Linked DNA regions of Homo sapiens: all the other regions are linked to region 1. The links are contacts of gene promoters, found by promoter capture Hi-C in blood cells and fetal thymus (Javierre and others, 2016). All regions are on one chromosome and are shown on one strand. Each heading gives the region's core, a stretch centred on a gene start or on the middle of the fragment in contact. The rest is flanking DNA. Distances are from core to core; before and after follow the strand shown. Region 1 holds the start of ZSCAN32 (zinc finger and SCAN domain containing 32). Region 2 has its middle 19 kb from the start of TRP-AGG1-1. Region 3 has its middle 6.1 kb from the start of LINC00921. Region 4 holds the start of TRR-CCG1-3 (tRNA-Arg (anticodon CCG) 1-3). Region 5 overlaps MEFV (MEFV innate immunity regulator, pyrin). Region 6 overlaps ZNF200 (zinc finger protein 200).

What was found. Contacts are between HindIII fragments. The CHiCAGO score rates a contact against its expected background, and 5 or more counts as called.
Region 2: a contact is called between a fragment that was not itself captured here and the fragment with the promoter of ZSCAN32 in region 1, in 1 of 17 cell types (monocytes). The highest score is 5.2, in monocytes.
Region 3: a fragment that was not itself captured here is called in contact with the fragment with the promoter of ZSCAN32 in region 1 in 15 of 17 cell types (naive CD4 T cells, monocytes, M2 macrophages and 12 more); the score reaches 10.3 in naive CD4 T cells.
Region 4: a fragment that was not itself captured here is called in contact with the fragment with the promoter of ZSCAN32 in region 1 in 10 of 17 cell types (naive CD8 T cells, megakaryocytes, naive CD4 T cells and 7 more); the score reaches 9.2 in naive CD8 T cells.
Region 5: a fragment that was not itself captured here is called in contact with the fragment with the promoter of ZSCAN32 in region 1 in 1 of 17 cell types (monocytes); the score reaches 6.4 in monocytes.
Region 6: a fragment that was not itself captured here is called in contact with the fragment with the promoter of ZSCAN32 in region 1 in 12 of 17 cell types (monocytes, fetal thymus, erythroblasts and 9 more); the score reaches 9.8 in monocytes.

Annotation. Positions count from the first base shown.
Region 1 is chr16:3,399,533-3,402,336 of GRCh38, reverse strand. ZSCAN32 (zinc finger and SCAN domain containing 32) reads left to right here and starts at 1,333. Exons shown (of 7, transcript NM_001284527.2): 1 at 1,333-1,392. ZNF174 (zinc finger protein 174) reads right to left here and starts at 1,122. Exons shown (of 3, transcript NM_003450.3): 1 at 1-1,122. The coding sequence starts at 332. It overlaps LOC105371059 (a long non-coding RNA gene), which reads right to left. Exons shown (of 4, transcript XR_007064949.1): 4 at 2,668-2,706. RefSeq lists silencers at 776-995, 1,546-1,695 and an enhancer at 1,073-1,572. The HindIII fragment of the contact is 4,650 bases long and covers 292-2,804 here.
Region 2 is chr16:3,209,194-3,211,906 of GRCh38, reverse strand. No RefSeq gene overlaps it. Among named protein-coding and RNA genes, the nearest start is that of TRP-AGG1-1, 19 kb to the right of the region's middle. RefSeq lists a silencer at 1-139. The HindIII fragment of the contact is 989 bases long and covers 922-1,910 here.
Region 3 is chr16:3,268,512-3,271,211 of GRCh38, reverse strand. No RefSeq gene overlaps it. Among named protein-coding and RNA genes, the nearest start is that of LINC00921, 6.1 kb to the right of the region's middle. The HindIII fragment of the contact is 5,663 bases long and covers 1-2,700 here.
Region 4 is chr16:3,150,200-3,152,982 of GRCh38, reverse strand. It overlaps TRR-CCG1-3 (tRNA-Arg (anticodon CCG) 1-3), which reads right to left and starts at 2,309; the gene lies at 2,237-2,309. It overlaps TRR-CCT3-1 (tRNA-Arg (anticodon CCT) 3-1), which reads right to left and starts at 83; the gene lies at 11-83. It also overlaps the pseudogene TRP-AGG6-1. RefSeq lists silencers at 1-55, 2,237-2,586. The HindIII fragment of the contact is 2,144 bases long and covers 203-2,346 here.
Region 5 is chr16:3,246,255-3,248,956 of GRCh38, reverse strand. It overlaps MEFV (MEFV innate immunity regulator, pyrin), which reads left to right. Exons shown (of 10, transcript NM_000243.3): 4 at 1-48; 5 at 1,711-1,941; 6 at 2,410-2,432. Among named protein-coding and RNA genes, the nearest start is that of MEFV, 9.0 kb to the left of the region's middle. The HindIII fragment of the contact is 2,855 bases long and covers 1-2,702 here.
Region 6 is chr16:3,226,733-3,229,581 of GRCh38, reverse strand. The region is part of intron 4 of ZNF200 (zinc finger protein 200); the gene reads left to right. Among named protein-coding and RNA genes, the nearest start is that of ZNF200, 7.0 kb to the left of the region's middle. The HindIII fragment of the contact is 5,587 bases long and covers 1-2,849 here.

The DNA of each region.
Region 1 (2,804 bases), core at 84-2,583:
GGACATCGATGCCTGACCCGAGCCTGGATCTCCGGGGGCAGGATGGTCAGGAACTGCTCCATCACCAGAAGCTCCAAAATCTGCTCCTTGGTGTGCAGCTCGGGTTGCAACCACTGACGGCAGAGCTGTCGGAGCTGGGAGAGAGCCTCTTGGGGTCCAGACACCTCTTGATAACAAAAGCGTCTGAAGCTCTGGCGGCAGAGCTCAGGATCTGGGCAGTTTTTTTGCAGAGGAGGGCCCCGTTTCTCTTCTAGTTTGGCTATTATGTGTCTCTCTTGCTTGGAGGAAGCTTCAGTGTTGGAGCTTAAAGTTATCTCCATTTTAGCTGCCATTTTGGGCGTCAGGAGACAACTCTCTCCTTGTAAACGGGTTAAGCCTTTGGGATCATGACCCTGGAGAAGTCTCTGAATACTAGAAAGATTCTAGAAACGAAGGTTCTCTGAGGATGTTAGGGGGAACGGGATGCAGAGACAAAGCCTCACTTGCTAGCCTTTACTAGCCAAACTCAAGACAACGCGGTCCCTGGGAGTGGGAAGAGTTTTGTCTTCTTGTCAGTTTTTTGCAGTCTTGCAAAGGAGAAAAGTCATAACGTCCTAAAAGGACTCTGGGGAAAAAATACTTCTTTTATTTCAGTAGCAAGCACACAGGTCTCGGATTTAATGAGCAATACGCTCTAACCGGCGGGTGGAGCGGAATCCCTAGGAAAAGTTCAAGCTGTCGCAGGTAGCTTGCCCCAACTCTCCCGCATCCTGGCGGAAACCGACCGGGTGCATGTCGCCGGGTGCTAAACGGTAGAGCTAAGCGAGGCCACAGCGCCAGCCGGGGGTGTGAGGTAGCGAACAGCCTCCTGCACGCGAGCAAAGCGGCTGCTCGCTGCCGAGGCGCCGCAGGCCCAGTGGCTCCGGCCTCCAGGGCGGCCCCGCGGCCCAGCCAGCCCCAGGCCTGGCGAAGCTGCCGCAACCCGATGCGCAGCTGAACTCCACGCCCGGTGTGAGCTCGGACTGGCGACTGCGACACCGGTACCCCGAACAGCCCGGCGCCCCGCACCCACCTGCAGCCGACTCACCTCTCCGGGAACCCAAGACCGAGGGACTTAGGACCCGACACCGGCGAGCACGGGCTGGGGGCGGGGCCGATGCCACTCGCTGCGGAGACGCCCACTAGCTGCTGAGGACAACTACTGACAGGGCCCGCCTCCTGCCAAGGGCATTCTCTACCGTCTATTGGTTGCTGCGCCTGTCAATACCGTCGCAGTGCATCCCGGGAGCTGCAGTCCGGCAATTCGGCTTGCGGGCCTGCGCAGGGGCGTGCGTAATGGGCGGAGCGAATCGCGCCGCTGACTTCCGGCCCGGAGGCTGAGGGAGTTTGTGGAGTCGCGAGTGCTGGTGTCCGGTGAGTTCTCCGCTTCCTTGCGGCCGGCGGGATTAGCCGCTGGGCCCTGCGACGGCCGAGGAGCCCCTCCCCGCTGGGAGTCTTCTCCGAGGCGTTCGGGTCCGGCCCCGATGGGCGTCTCCTTGGGACAGGCAGCCTCCCTCAGGCCGGGCGTCCCCAGACGCGCCGCGATCACCGTGCCCCGCTCCCACCGTGCGGATCACCCCGAGCCTGAGCGCCGGCGCCCCGGGACCCCCTGGCCTTGACCCTGCTCATCTCGTCCCTGTCTCGCCCACTCCCTACTCATCCACAGTGCCTAGCCCTGGCACCGAGTGCGTTCTGAGTACTCAATAAATAGTTAACTAAGTGAAAAACCTATCAACCTGGCTCCCCATCCTCATGCTACATTTTTTTCCGAGTGTTTGGGCCATCGCTAGAGTGAAGTAAAATTTTCAGAGAACAGCATTTTAAAATTTAACGATGAGTGGGAGGTAAGGGGTCAAAAGGGGTCAAGAAGGGTGCAGGTTCCGCCTTCTGCATGAAGTTAGAAGAGCTTTTATTAAATTCTTCTTCAGCCAGGTAAGGCACAGGATGAACATAATGAAGGCAAGGGGTGCTGGTTCTAGTCCTGGCCTTGCTGCCTAGGAGCTGTGCTGTGTGATGCTTTAGGCAAGATACTTCATCGCTCTCAGTTTCTTTTTGGCTAGAAAGCAGTGCTAACAATAATAATGCCCTTGATTTCTCTATCTCTAGAAGCACTGAAATGTAAAGAGAATTTAAGTGAAGGCAGTTCAAGTTCCTTGAGAAAAGGGAACCCAAATCCATTTTTAAAATATAAAAAAATTTCTTTAATTTTTAAAAAACATTTACCATCATAACCATTTTTAAGTGTACAGCTCAGTAGTCCTGAGTATATTCATCTTGTTGTGCATGCTGGATCCATTTTAATACCACATGGTGAGGGTGTATCAGCCCCTGGAGAAAATGTAAATTACGATCTGCTTTAATCTGTGTTTTAAGTAGATAAAAACCAACACAAACTCATTAAAAAAGACTGCCTTCGCGGGTGCAGTGGCTCACACCTGTAATCCCAGCACTTTGGGAGGCCAAGGTGGGAGGATCACTTGAGCACAGGAGTTTGAGACCAGCCTGGGCAACATAGTGAAACTCCACCTCTACAAAAAATACAAAAGTTAGCTTCTATTTAAAATTATTTTTAAGGTCGGGCATGGTGGCTTATACTTGTAATCCTAACACTTTGGGAGGTTGAGGTGGGAGGATTGCTTGAGTTCAGGAGTTTGAGACCAGCCTGGGCAACAGAGTGAGACTCCATCTCTAAAGATAAAAAAACAAATAAAATTATTTTTAAAAGTTATTTATTAATTTTAAATTATATAAAACTATTTTTAAAATTAACTCTTAAAAAAATATTG
Region 2 (2,713 bases), core at 167-2,666, 190 kb after region 1:
TTAATACGCACACCTCTTCCCCAAAACACACCCTCCTGAAAATGTTAGGCTGGATCCTAACATAACGCAAGTATCCCTTACAAAACTGGAAGCCCCACTCACCCATCTTCAAAAGAGGGACATTCAAAGGTGAAAATTAGTAGATAAAAATATACGTGGAAGAGCAGAGACAAAAGTGTGTGAGATAGACAAAAGACAAACTGAAAAACAGAATCACTTTTTTTTTTTTTGAGACAGAGTCTTACTGTCGCCCAGGCTGTAGTGCAGTAACACAATCTCGACTCACTGCAACCTCCACTTCCCAGGCTCAAGGGATCCTCCCACCGCAGGTTCCTGAGTAGCTGGTATTACAAGAACCCACCACCACGCCCAGATTTTTTTTTGTATTTTTAGTAGAGATGCGGTTTCACCATGTTGGTCAGTCTGGTCTCGAACTCCTGACCTCAGGTGATCCGCCTACCTCGGCCTCCCCAAAGGCTGGGATTACAGGCGCCTACTTCAGCCTCCCCAAGGGCTGGGATTACAGGCGTGAGCCACCATGCCCGGCCTGTAGACTGTTCTTTCTAGGTGTTAGATTACACTCTATTTTTTTTTTATTTTTTTTAATTTTTTTTAGACAGAGTCTCACTCTGTCATCCAGGCTGGAGTGCAGCAGCGTGATCTTGGCTCACTGCAGCCTCCACCTCCCAGGTTCAAGTGATTCTCCTGCCTCAGCCTCCCAAGTAACTGGGACTGCAGGTGCCCACCACCATGCCTGGATAATTTTTTTGTATTTTTAGTAGAGACGGGGTTTCACCGTGTTAGCCAGGATGGTCTCGATCTCCTGACGTCGTGATCCACCAGCCTAGGCCTCCCAAAGTGCTGGGATTACAGGCGTGAGCCACCTTGCCTGCCCTAATTTTTTCTCACATACTGAAAGCTTTGAAAAGGAAGATCTTGATACAGAGGGAAGGAGCCCTTCATCCAAGTCAACTATTTCAGAAAGTCTGAGAGAATGAGCAAACACAAGAAAGCAGAATGAGTAATATTAGTATTAACCAAAGTATGCTTTAAGCAGAAACAAGAATTGAAGAGGACAAAGATCATTCTATTTCTAGAAGGTATTTAATATAATTTATAATGAATGGATAACATTCACCAGCCTCCAGGCCTTCTGTGTTAGTCCGTTTTCGCTGCTATAAAGAAATACCTGACTCTGGGTAATTTATAAAGAAAAGTTTTTTTGGGTCATGATTCTGCAGGCTGTACAAGAAGCATGGTGTGGGCACCTACTTCTGGTGAGGCCTCAGGAAGTTTCCAATCATGGCAGAAGGTGAAGTGGAAACAGGTGTGTCACATGAAGAGAGAGGGAATAAAAGGGAGAAGGGGAAGCTCCCAGGCTCTAACAATCAGAGCTCATGGTAACTTATTACTGTGTGGGGGGAACCAAGCCATTCATGAGGGACCCACCCCCATGACCTAAACACCACCTGCCAGGCGCCACCTCCAACACTGAGAATCACATTTCAACATGAGATTTGGTGGAGACAAACAGCCAAACCACATCACCTCCATAACCAAAGATCAAATCAAAAAGTAAAGCTGACCCGGCATGGTGGCTCATGCCTGTAATTCCAGCACTTTGGGATGCCAAGGTAGGCAGATCACTTGAGGTCAGGAGTTCAAGACCAGCCTGGCCAACATGGTGAAACCCCATCTCTACTAAAAATACAAAAATTAGCCAGGCATGGTGGTGGATGTCTGTAATCCCAGCCACTCAAGAGGTTGAGGCAGGAAAATCACTTGAACCCAGGAGGCAGAGGTTACAGTGAGCTGAGATCGTGCTGCTGCACTCCAGCCTGGGCAACAGACTGAGACTTCATCCCCCCCGCAGAAAAAAAAAGGACGTTAAAAAAAAAAAAGTAAAAGCTTACTGCAATCATTCTGTAAAGAAAAAAAGGTAAAAGCTATTAACATATAGAAAGAAAATAATTGAAATGTTAATTATTAGACTTTGCAAATCAACTAAATAAATAATAAGAAGCAGTCAGAATTCAAACATTATAATCTTCATATAGATCTATTTGGATTATATTTTACAGCTACAGCTATATCATGAGAAAAAAATATATTGAAGTCATTTCCACATAAAAAGATCCCTAGGACCCAGAGGGAATCTCAAAGGAATAAGCCTGGATCTGCTCTGGGTGTTCCTGGGGAAACCTGGTTTGACACAGTGGGACTGGAAGCCCCAGGGCCAGGGAGTGGGTGTCCATCCGGAGGCAGATTTTTTTTTTTTTTTTTGGAGACAGGATCATGCTTTGTTCCCGAGGCTGGAGTGCAGTGGCACGATCGCAGCTCACTGCAGCCTCAACTTCCTGGGCTCAAGTGATCCTCCCACCTCAGCCTCCCAAGTAGCTGGGACCACAGGTATGAGCCACCATGCCCAGTTAATTTTTTAATTTTTTGTAGAGATGGAGTCTCACTATATTGCCCAGGCTGGTCTCAAACTCCTGGGCTCAAATGATCCTCCCACCTTGGACTTTAAAGGTGTTGTGATTACAGGTGGGAGCCACCATACCCGGCCCAGAGTCAGATTTTAGTGGAGAATAACATGAGTTTGAACACAGATGGCTGTGATCTGAACCTTAGGTGGGTCCCAGTGTGGCCCCCAAAGGGATGGGCCACAGGCATCTATGTTGCAGCACACAGGCTGTCAGCTGACCAGGCATCG
Region 3 (2,700 bases), core at 83-2,582, 130 kb after region 1:
TGTGTAGAAAAAAGTAGACATGGGAGACTTTTCATTTTGTTCTGTACTAAGAAAAATTCTTCTGCCTTGGGATACTGTTGATCTGTGACCTTACCCCCAACCCTGTGCTCTCTGAAACATGTGCTGTGTCCACTCAGGGTTAAATGGATTAAGGGCAGTGCAAGATGTGCTTTGTTAAACAGATGCTTGAAGGCAGCATGCTCGTTAAGAGTCATCACCACTCCCTAATCTCAAGTACCCAAGGACACAAACACTGCAGAAGGCCGCAGGGTCCTCTGCCTAGGAAAACCAGAGACCTTTGTTCACTTGTTTGTCTGCTGACCTTCCCTCCACTGTTGTCCTATGGCCCTGCCAAGTCCCCCTCTGCGAGAAACACCCAAGAATGATCAATAAAAAAATAAAAAATAAAAAAAAAGAAAGATCTTCCTCACTGCGAAATTTAAACAAATTTACAGATATTACACTTCGTGTTTCTTTAAATCATCTGGGCCAGGTGCGGTGGCTCATGGTTGTAATCCCAGCATTTTGGGAGGCCGAGGCGGGTGGATCACTCGAGGTCAGGAGTTCGAGACCAGTCTGGGCAACATGGTGAAAACCCATCTCCACTAAAAATACAAAAAATTAGCCGGGTGTGGTGGCACATGCCTGTAATCCCAGCTACTTGGGAGGCTGAGGCAGGAGAATCACTTGAACCTGGGAGGCAGAGGTTGCAATGAGCCCAGATCACACCATTGCACTCCAGCCTGGGAAACAAGAGCGACATTCCGTCTCAAAAAAAAAAAAAAATATATATATATATATATATATATATATATATATATATGGAGTTTATTTTTTATATATGTCAGGCAGAAGTCTATGTTTTCCAGCTCAACTGTCAACAGTCCCAAAACTATTTATAAGTTGGGCCACCTTTTCCCCTTGGGTTTTAAATACCATCTTTTGCATATACACACGTCTTACGGAATCTTGTTTCCATTTACCTTATATCCATTCTTGTAAAAACATATTACTGTTCTAATTTACTGTATTTTCACAGCTTGTTGTTATATCTGTTACAATACATCTCACACCACTGTATTTTTTTCACAATTTTTTTGGCTATGAATTTTAAAAATCAACTTGTCAAAGCCCATTCTTAAACATCTTGCAGCCTGGTGCGGTGGCTGATGCCTGTAATCCCAGCACTTTGGGAGGGTGAGGTGGGCAGAACAGCCTGGCCAACATGGCGAAACCTCATCTCTACTAAAAATACAAAAATTAGCTGGGCATGGTGGGGCGCACCTGTAATCCCAGCTACTCGGGAGGCTGAGGCAGGAGAATCACTTGAACCTGGGAGGCAGAGGTTGCAGTGACCTGAGATCACGCCACTGCACTCCAGCCTGGGCAACAGTGAGACCCAGTCTGAAAAAAAAAAGAAAGTCTTGTTATGGCTGGGCATGGTGGCTCACACTTGTAATGCCAGCATTTTGAGAGGCCAAGGCAGGAAGATCGCATGAGCTTAGAAGTTTGAGACCAGCTCAGGCAACATAGCAAGATCACATTTTTTTAAAAATGTAAAAAAAAAATCTCGTTACAATTTCAATTGGGTTTGCTTATAATTTGTTGATTAATTTAGGAATGCATGATATATTTGTAATATTAACTCTTCCATCCACGACTGTGGTGTATTTCTTCAATGATCTGGGACTTTTAAAATTCTGTAATCCTATATACTTTTCTTCTTATAGGTCTTGCAAATTTCTTATCATGTCTGGTTATGGGTTTTGCTACTATTGTGCATGGGATTCTTTGTTTCAAATTTTGTTTCCTAATTACTCAGATTAATTTTCCAACACCTACCACCAACTCTTTCAAGGCAGCATGTAGGGGTTAGTGGTAGCAACTCTTCTCTTGGAGCCAGTCTTAGTTGTCTGTATAAAGAAACCATTCCATGTTCCAGGACAGACTTTGCTGCCGTTGGGATGAATGGAGAGCAACATCCCGGTTGTCCGTCATGGGTGACAGCCTTCCTTCAGGTGACTTTGGCCTGTGATTTTCCATCCTGTTTGGGCTTCAAGTTATCCGAAAGGAATCATATTGAAATGGGTGTTTCTGAATTTCCGTGTCCTCATGTTTTTAGTTCTTCACAGCCTGCTTTAAAAATTATTCATTCTTTTTTTTTTCTTTTTGACAGAGTCTCGCTCTGTTGCCCAGGCTGGAGTGCAATGGTGCGATCTCGGCTCACTGCAACCTCCACCTCCCGGCTTCAATCGATCCTCCCGCCTCAGCCTACTTAGTAGCTGGGGTTACAGGCGCACGCTACCATGCCCGGCTAATTTTTGTATTTTTAGTAGAAATGGAGTTTCACCATGTTGGTCAGGCTGGTCTTGAACTCCTGATCTCGTGATCCACCTGCCTCGGCCTCTCAAAGTGCTGGGATTAAAGGCGTGAGCCACCGCGCCCAGCCACATTATTCATTCTTGCTTCTGCCTCTCCCTTTATCTTTCAGATATTAGGTGTAGTCAATAGCACTTAACTTTCTTCCAAATACAGTTAGGTGGACAGAATTCTAGTCCCAGCTCTGCACTGATGTGTAGAACTCAAGTCAGTCAGTTCCCCTGGAAGCCTGTGTCCTCCTCTGTAACATGACGGGGTTGGCTTGATGACTGCTAAGCTACCAGATGCCAAGAGACAGCAAAGCCAAAGGAAAGGCCTTGA
Region 4 (2,783 bases), core at 25-2,524, 250 kb after region 1:
GGCCTTTCTTTACCCCGGGTGGGACTCGAACCCACAATCCCTGGCTTAGGAGGCCAATGCCTTATCCATTAGGCCACCGGGGCGGATAACAAAACGCTGTCGCTTGTCTTAGACCAGTTTCTCCATCACTCCGCGGTGGTTCCTGCACAGCCTGCCCGTCCTACCCTGGCCTTTCTCCCGCCCCTCCACTGCAATCCAAGCTTCGGTTCAGATCTCGTCCGCTCCTGAGCATCCTCGGGACCCCAAAGAGACGGCGCACGTGCAGAGGGACCTGAAAGACACCGAACGTCAGATTTTTGGCTCCGCTCTTTGGTCTAGGGGTATGATCTTCGCTTAGGGTGCGAGAGGTGCCTGGATCAACTCCTTCACAAGCCGTCGTCTCCACTCAGGAGACAACCCAAGTCTAGGGGTAATTAGTAGCGAATGATGCACTTGCGATGGGTAGAGTGTATGGGAAGGGGCACGCGATGCCAGCTCAGCAACTGGCTCCTCATCCCGAGCCCGCCGCTTCTGGAAGTGTCGGTCTTCGTCCTCCTCCCCCGCATTGTCCGTTAGACCAAGGGTGCCGCCCAGTGGTCGGAAGCCTCTTAATAATGACCCTCCAAAATCCGCCCTCTACATCCCCAGCTGGCTAGGTGTTAATCTCAGGATCGCCACGTTGGGTGTTTACTTTCCTGCCCCAACACGTGTGTTATTTTCCTTTTTTAAAAAATCTGTATTTTAATGACGTTCTTTTCCTTTAATACCTAGTAAACGCTTCAGTCCAGGAGTTCGAGACCATCATGGGCAAAATAGTGAGCGCCCCGTCTCTACCAAAAACAAATACCTTCGTAAACCACTGAAACATCAAAAAAAATTAAAGGAGAAAGTGACACCCTGCACGACGCCAGGTCACCAGCGTCCGCCGACCGGAGGCCATGCCTGCAGCTGCGACTCTCCGCAGCCTTCACCCCGTGGAAGGATACCCCACCCCGTGGAAGGATACCCCAAGAGGCGCTGCTCGGCACCCGGACTAAACTCGGGTTCCGCTGGTAGACATTTTTTTTCCCCTCGGCGAAATATTAACTCAATCCTGGAGATACTCTTTGAATTTTATTTTATTTTATTTTATTTTATTTTATTTTATTTTATTTTATTTTATTTTATTTATTTTCTATTTTGAGACGGAGTCTCGCTCTGTCGCCCAGGCTGGAGTGCAGTGGCGCGATCTTGGCTCACTGCAGCCTCCGGCCTCCCGGGTTCAAGCGATTCTCCTGCCTCAGCCTCCTGAGTAGCTGGGAGTACAGGCGCGCGCCACCACGTCCCGCTAATTTTTGTATTTTTAGTAGAAACGGGGTTTTACCATGTGAGTCAGGCTGGTCTGGAACTCCCGACCTCATGATTCGCCCGCCTCGACCTCCCAAAGTGCTGGGATTAGAGGCGTGAGCCACCGCGCCCGGCTCATCACCACTATAATCGTTTTCTTTTTTACTTTGTTACCCCATGATCAGTTGATACAAAGTTTTTCATCACAATAATCAATTAAACTACACATGTCGCCGGGCGCGGTGGCTCACGCCTGTAAGCCCAGCACTTTGGGAGACCGAGGCTGGACGATCACCTGAGGTCGGGAGTTCGAGACCAGCCTGGCCAACATGGAGAACCCACCCCCGCCCACCCCCCCACCCTACTAAAAATACAAAAATTAGCCGGGCCTGGTGGCGCATGCCTGTAATCCCAGCTACTCGGAAGGCTGAGGCAGGAGAATCGTTTGAACCCGGGAGGCGGAGGTTGCAGTGAGCGGAGATCAAGACATTGCACTCCAGCCTAGGCAACAAGAGCGAAACTCCGTCTCAAAAAAAAAACAAAAACAAAAACAAAAAACTACAGGTGTCCTTTGATCCCTTGGGGCAACTCCTCACAGCAAGCAATCCCAGCCCCGCGTCTGTCACGGTTTCCATCACCTGAACGTTAATTTGTGAAGTCAATCCCCTACCAGATCCCAGGACCTGCGTTCTCTGGCTTCAAGCTCCGCAGTCCGCCAGGGCCCTGCCGGCGTTCTCTAAGTCGCCCTCGCTGCTATTCTGGCCCTGGGTCCTTAGCTTCGCGACTGGAGGCGCAGGGCGAGGTCCCAGTGTTCCTACGGGGGTGAGGGGAGAGCGACCGGCGCACTCAGTTCGAGTGTCGTAGTCGCCCAGGGTGCAGTCCCAGGTGAAGAAATTTTAAGTGGAGCTGGAAGAAAACGTTAACATGGCAACGACCACGAAGGGACTCGAACCCTCAATCTTCTGATCCGGAATCAGACGCCTTATCCATTAGGCCACGCGGCCCTGCGGCTGTATGGCTCCCAGCTATTCTCATAAAGCTTTCTATAGCCTATGCTGTCGCTTTAACGCGCATGCTTAGAGTGAGGGGAGGCCGGTCCTTCCGAGGCTCCCGGTGGGCGGGACTCCGAGCTGGGCCACCGCGCCGGGCCGCTGAGGCTGCTGGGTGGAAACCGCCGCCGCGGGCCCGGGACTGTGAGTTCGAGCCCTGGCGAGCCCGCCCTACCCCACCCTCCCCGCAGCAGGCCCCTCCGAGACGCCGTTTGGGAGCGCTTTCCCCCATGTGCCTCCCGCCGCTTTGGGTCAGGGGCTGCAAGCTGCTTGCCCAGCCCCTGTGCTTGCTCCATCACGGTGAACCTGCAAAGGTGTGTTTCAGAGGCTTTTGGCCCCAGACTTTATTCTGGCCGCCTGGAAAGCGGAGGCCGTGTCTCCTGAGTTTCTATGGCCCAGCGCGGGGTGGAGGTGGGGCGCGCATACACA
Region 5 (2,702 bases), core at 107-2,606, 150 kb after region 1:
GGGGAGGAGCAGCGATCCTATGGGGAGGAGAAGGCAGTGAGCTTTCTGGTAAGGTCAGAGGTGGCTGATGGCCCATCCGTCCCTGGGAGGAAGGTGGGAAGAGTGAGCAGGGGTCCCCGAGATTCTGCTGTGGTTCACAGGGCAGCAGGGATGGCCACCTCCTCTCAGGGGACAGAGGGTAACCAGCAGCCAAGGGTAAGCTCATCCCTGTAGAGGGAGACCACCCCCAGCAGGCAGGGGTCACCTCTGAGGATCCTGTCATGCTTTCTCATACTCACCAGAAGATGGTAGAGAGCAACCTATGCCGGTGACTACTGCAGAAAGATGGGATTGAGGAAAAGGGAGGAGAACGCCACTTTCTTTTTTTGTGACGGAGTCTCGCTCTGTCACCCAGGTTGTAGTGCAGTGGTGTGATCTTGGCTCACTGCAACCTCTGCCTCCCGGGTTCAAGCGATTCTCCTGCCTCAGCCTCCTGAGTAGCTGGGATTATAGGTGAGTGCCACCATGCCTGGCTAATTTTTGTAGTTTTAGTAGAGATGGGGTTTCACCATGTTGGTCAGGCTGTTCTCGAACTCCTGAACTCGTGATCCGCCCGCCTTGGCCTCCCAAAGTACTGGGATTACAGATGTGAGCCACTGCGCCCGGCCAAGAACACTTTTAACTTCATAATTTACTCTCTGTTTTTTTGTTTTGTTTCCAAGATGGAGTCTCGCTCTGTCACCCAGGCTGGAGTACAGTGGCACGATCTTGGCTTGCTCCAACCTCCACCTCCGAGGTTCAAGCAATTCTCCTGCCTCAGCCTCCTTAGTGGCTGGAATTACAGGCGCCTGCCACCGCGCCTGGCTAATTTTTGTATTTTTAGTAGAGACGGGATTTCACCGTGTTGGCCAGGCTGGTCTCAAACTCCTGACCTCAGGTGATCCACCTGCCTCGGCCTCCCAAAGTGCTGGGATTACAGGTGTGAGCCATCGTGCCTGGGCTGGTTTTTTTGTTTTTTAGGGTTTTTTTTTTTTTTTTTTTTTGAGATGGAATCTCACTCCGTCGTCCAGGCTGGGGTGCAGTGGTGCAATCTCGGCTCACTGCAAACCTTCGCCTCCCCAGTTGAAGCAATTCTCCTGCCTCAGCCTCCCGAGTTGCTGGGACTGTAGGCACATGCCACCACTCCTGGCTAATTTTTGTATTTTTAGTAAAGACAGAGTTTCCCCATGTTGGCCAGGCTGGTCTCGAACTCCTGATCTCAAGTGATCTGCCCAACTCAGCCTCCCAAAGTGCTGGGATTACAGACATGAGCCAATGCACCCAGCCCAAATTTCCCCATTTTATAAGACAACATTTATATTGGATTAGGGACCCACCCAATCCCAGTAGGACCACATCTTAACTAATTACATCTGCAAGAACTCTTATCTCCAAATAAGATCACATGCTGAGTACTGGGGGTTAGGGCTTCAACGTGTAAATTTTGGAAGGGACACAGTTAAACCTTAACACCAGGTTTAAGGACATTTTCCCAGAGCTAGCCCCAGCCATGCTCAGTCTTTTCTGGAAGGTTCCAGACAATATCGCCTCCTGCTCTGGAATCTAGGCCTTGAAGAGGCAGCATAAGCCCACCTCTTATCCACCTCCAGGAGGTGGGCTTCTGGGGGTTCCTGGACATCCACGTCCACCCACAGCACAGACCCCCATACCTCCCTGTCCTCTGCTCCCCAGAAACAAACTGAAGCGCTGAAGCAGCGGGTGCAGAGGAAGCTGGAGCAGGTGTACTACTTCCTGGAGCAGCAAGAGCATTTCTTTGTGGCCTCACTGGAGGACGTGGGCCAGATGGTTGGGCAGATCAGGAAGGCATATGACACCCGCGTATCCCAGGACATCGCCCTGCTCGATGCGCTGATTGGGGAACTGGAGGCCAAGGAGTGCCAGTCAGAATGGGAACTTCTGCAGGTGGGTGTGCCTGGGCCCGGCTTTCTTGGGTCCCCTGTGCCTATCAGGATGCCTCAGGCTCCCAGCTCTGCCATCAGCCGTGCTGGAACAAGTGGGTGAAGCCCCTAAGGCCTAGGATAGGACTTGGTCTTGGTGACCCACAGTGCCTCTTGTGCCCAGACCCCTTTGATGAGGTCTCTCAGGAGCCCAGGGTGGCCTGGTATCCAGGGGATCTCTGCCATTTCCCAGAAGGGATCAGCAGGGCTTGAGGGCCGTTCCATTGCAGGCCTCGCCACCTGGGATGCCTGAATTCCCGTGGTTAGAATTAGACTTGAAGAAAGGTGCTCCACTTCCACTGACACCCTAGGGCAGGGAGCCCTGGTAAGTGCAGCGGGGAGCTAAAAGTCCAGGAGCCCAGAAGTAGAGGCCAGGAGTCAGCCCAGCCACTAGGAGCCTGGTAACCGACAGTTTCCTTCTTTTTTCTCCTAGGACATTGGAGACATCTTGCACAGGTACAGCGAGGTCCTGTGGTGTACCCTGGGGTGTCTTGCAGAAAGCATATGGGGGAGACAGTCCCAGAAGGGACCTGGGAGGGAGATGTTCCCAACCCCGGGGTCTGTGATTCCAGACTCCTCCTTTTTTCTGCAGCTTCCCAAAGCCTCTCTGGATTTGATAGGGAGAAGGGCATCTGGTCAGCAGGGAGGCTGGCCGGGTATGGAGCTGCAGACTGGGAAGGGTGAATTCAGCCCATCCTGCTGAAACAAGATGGAGGCTCCCTAAGA
Region 6 (2,849 bases), core at 42-2,541, 170 kb after region 1:
ATTATTTAATTTTTAAAAGTTTAGAAGAATTTTCTGTGGAACTGTCTGAGGCTGGTGCTTTTCTTGGGTAGGTGGCTAGTCTTTTTTTGATAATTTCAATTTTCTCTATGGAAATTGGTTTATTTTTGCTTAAATCTTACTAGTTTTTTTCTATTTTTAACTCATTACTTTCTAATTGGTATTTATTAATACCTTCATTCTTTTAAATTTATCCTATTGTTTTTCTAACTTTGAATCAGAGGCTTTATTATTCTCATTTTTCTAAATTAATACATGTTTTTACAGCCATGAGCTCTCTTATGAGCATCACTTTAGGTTATACCATAAATTCTGATATACACTTGTCCTTGGTATTCATGGGGGATTGGTTCCAGGACCCCCACTCAGATACCAAAATCCATGGATGCTCAAATTCATTATATAAAATGGTGTAGCATTTACATATACTCCACACATATCCTACCATATATTTTATTTCTAGATCAATTATAATACCTAATACAAAGTAAATGCTACATAAATAGTTGTTATACTAAATTGTTTAGGGAATGACAAAAAAACTGAATATGTACAGACAAAACCATCCTTTTTTTTTCTCTCAAATATTTTCAATCCTTGGTTGGTTGAATCCTCAGATGCAGAACCTATGAATATGAAGGTCTGTATAATGTTTTCTAGAAAAAATATGCAATTTTAATTTGTTTTTACCCCTTTGACGCAAGGTTGCTGATATAGTTTGGATATTTGTCCCCTCCAAATCTCGTGTTGAAATCCAGTCCCCATGCTGGGCACAGTGGTTCACGGCTGTAATCCCAGCACTTTGGGAGGCAAAGGCGGGTGATACCTGAGGTCAGGAGTTTGAGACCAGCCTGTCCAACATAGCAAAACCCCATCTCTACTAAAAAAAAAATATACAAAAGTTAGCTGGGTGTGGTGGTGCGTGCTTGTAATCCCAGTTACTCTGGAGGCTGAGGTAGGAGAATCACTTGAACCCGGGAGGCAGAGGTTGCAGTGAGCTGAGATCACATCATTGTACTCCAGCCTAGGGGACAGAGCAAGACTCCATCTCAAAAAAAATAATTAAAAAAACAGAAATAATACAAATCTATTAATATTTCTTATATATAAAGGAGAAAAATCATTTGTTTACTTGTATAGTTACTGAAAAGATACTTGACAAAATTGAAGCCTCTCCTTTATAAGAACATTTAACAAAATAGTTAACAGATACTTCCTTATAGGTAGAACAGAGTAATCAGAAAACTTAAAAATAAGAACATTTATTTGTCTTAAGTACTCTCATGGGAAAAAATGAGACCATTCACTAAGGTAGTGGGAAATAAAGTGAATAAACAGAAATCATTGGCTTTCACATATATAAATGGGGTCATTTAGAAGATACAGTGGAAGGCCCCATTAGAATAGAAACATGAAAGTTTAAATACTTAGGAATAAACTCAAGAAATGTGCAAATTTATGAGGAAACTTTAAAACAAGGCTAAAGGACAAGAGTAGATTTCAACGAAAGCAAAAAAAAAAAATACTATGTTTTTGGCTAGGGAGACAATATCATAAAAAGGTCATTTCTCCTCTTGTTGATTTATTAATTTGATGTGTTTTTTTTCAACAATACCAATAGCATTTTTCCCTTGGAACAAGACTGTGATCTCAGAAAGTCCCGAAATAGCCTCAAATACACATGGGAGTTTAGTGTGTGATAAAGTTGGTGTATTCGTCCATTTTCACACTGGTATAAAGAATTGTCCGAGACTTGGTAATTTATAAAGGAAACAGGTTTAATTGACTCACAGTTCAGCATGGCTGGGGAGGCCTCCAGAAACTTAAAATCATGGCAAAGGCAAGAGGAAGCAAGGCATCATCTTCACAAGGCAGCAGGAGGGAGAAGTACGAGTAAAGGGGGAAGAGCCCCTTATAAAACCATCAGATCTCATGAGAACTCACTATCATGAGAATAGCATGGGGGAAGGCCCCCCCGCCCATGACTCAGTTACCTTCACCTGATGTCTCCTTGACATGTGGGATTACAATTTAAGATGAGATTTGGGCGAGGACACAAAGCCTAACCATAAAGGGGGACTTTTTGATAAAAGGTGTTAGGACGACTGACAGCCACTTGATAAATTAGTACCTTACTTTACATACCAAGAAAAAGTCCACATGGATCAAAGATTTTAAATGTTTAAAACAAATATAAAAAGCACATTTAGAAAATATGAGTGATTCCTTTATAACCATGGGATAGGAAGGTTTTTGTAATTAAGACTCAAAAGCCCAGAAGCCTTGAAAGAAAAGATTGACAGATTCAAATACGTACAAAAGGCTGGGGCATGGTGGCTCACGCCTGTAATCCCAGCACTTTGGGAGGCCGAGGCAGGTGGATCACCTGAGGTCAGGAGTTTTGAGACCAGCCTGGCCAACATGGCAAAACCCCATTTTTACTAAAAATACAAAAATTAGCTGGATGTGGTGGGGCATGCCTATAATCCCAGCTACTCGGGAGGCTGAGGAAGGAGAATCACTTGAACCCAGGAGGTGGAGGTTGCAGTGAGCCGAGATCACGCCACTGCACTCCAGCCTGCGTGACAGGAGCAAAAAGAAGTGCAAATTAAGCCTCTAGTGAATTAACATTTTGCGTATTTCATATTTATAGAAATAAAAACACATTGATGGTGAGGTTGTTGAGAAACAGGTATATTGCTGGTGGGCATATAAAATGGTATAGTCCCTGTATAAGGGTAATTGCATCTGTAACTACCCATCTTATCCTTTGTTCCAGGAGTTCAATTCTGGAAATCTGACCTACAGATATAGCAACAGAACACATTCGA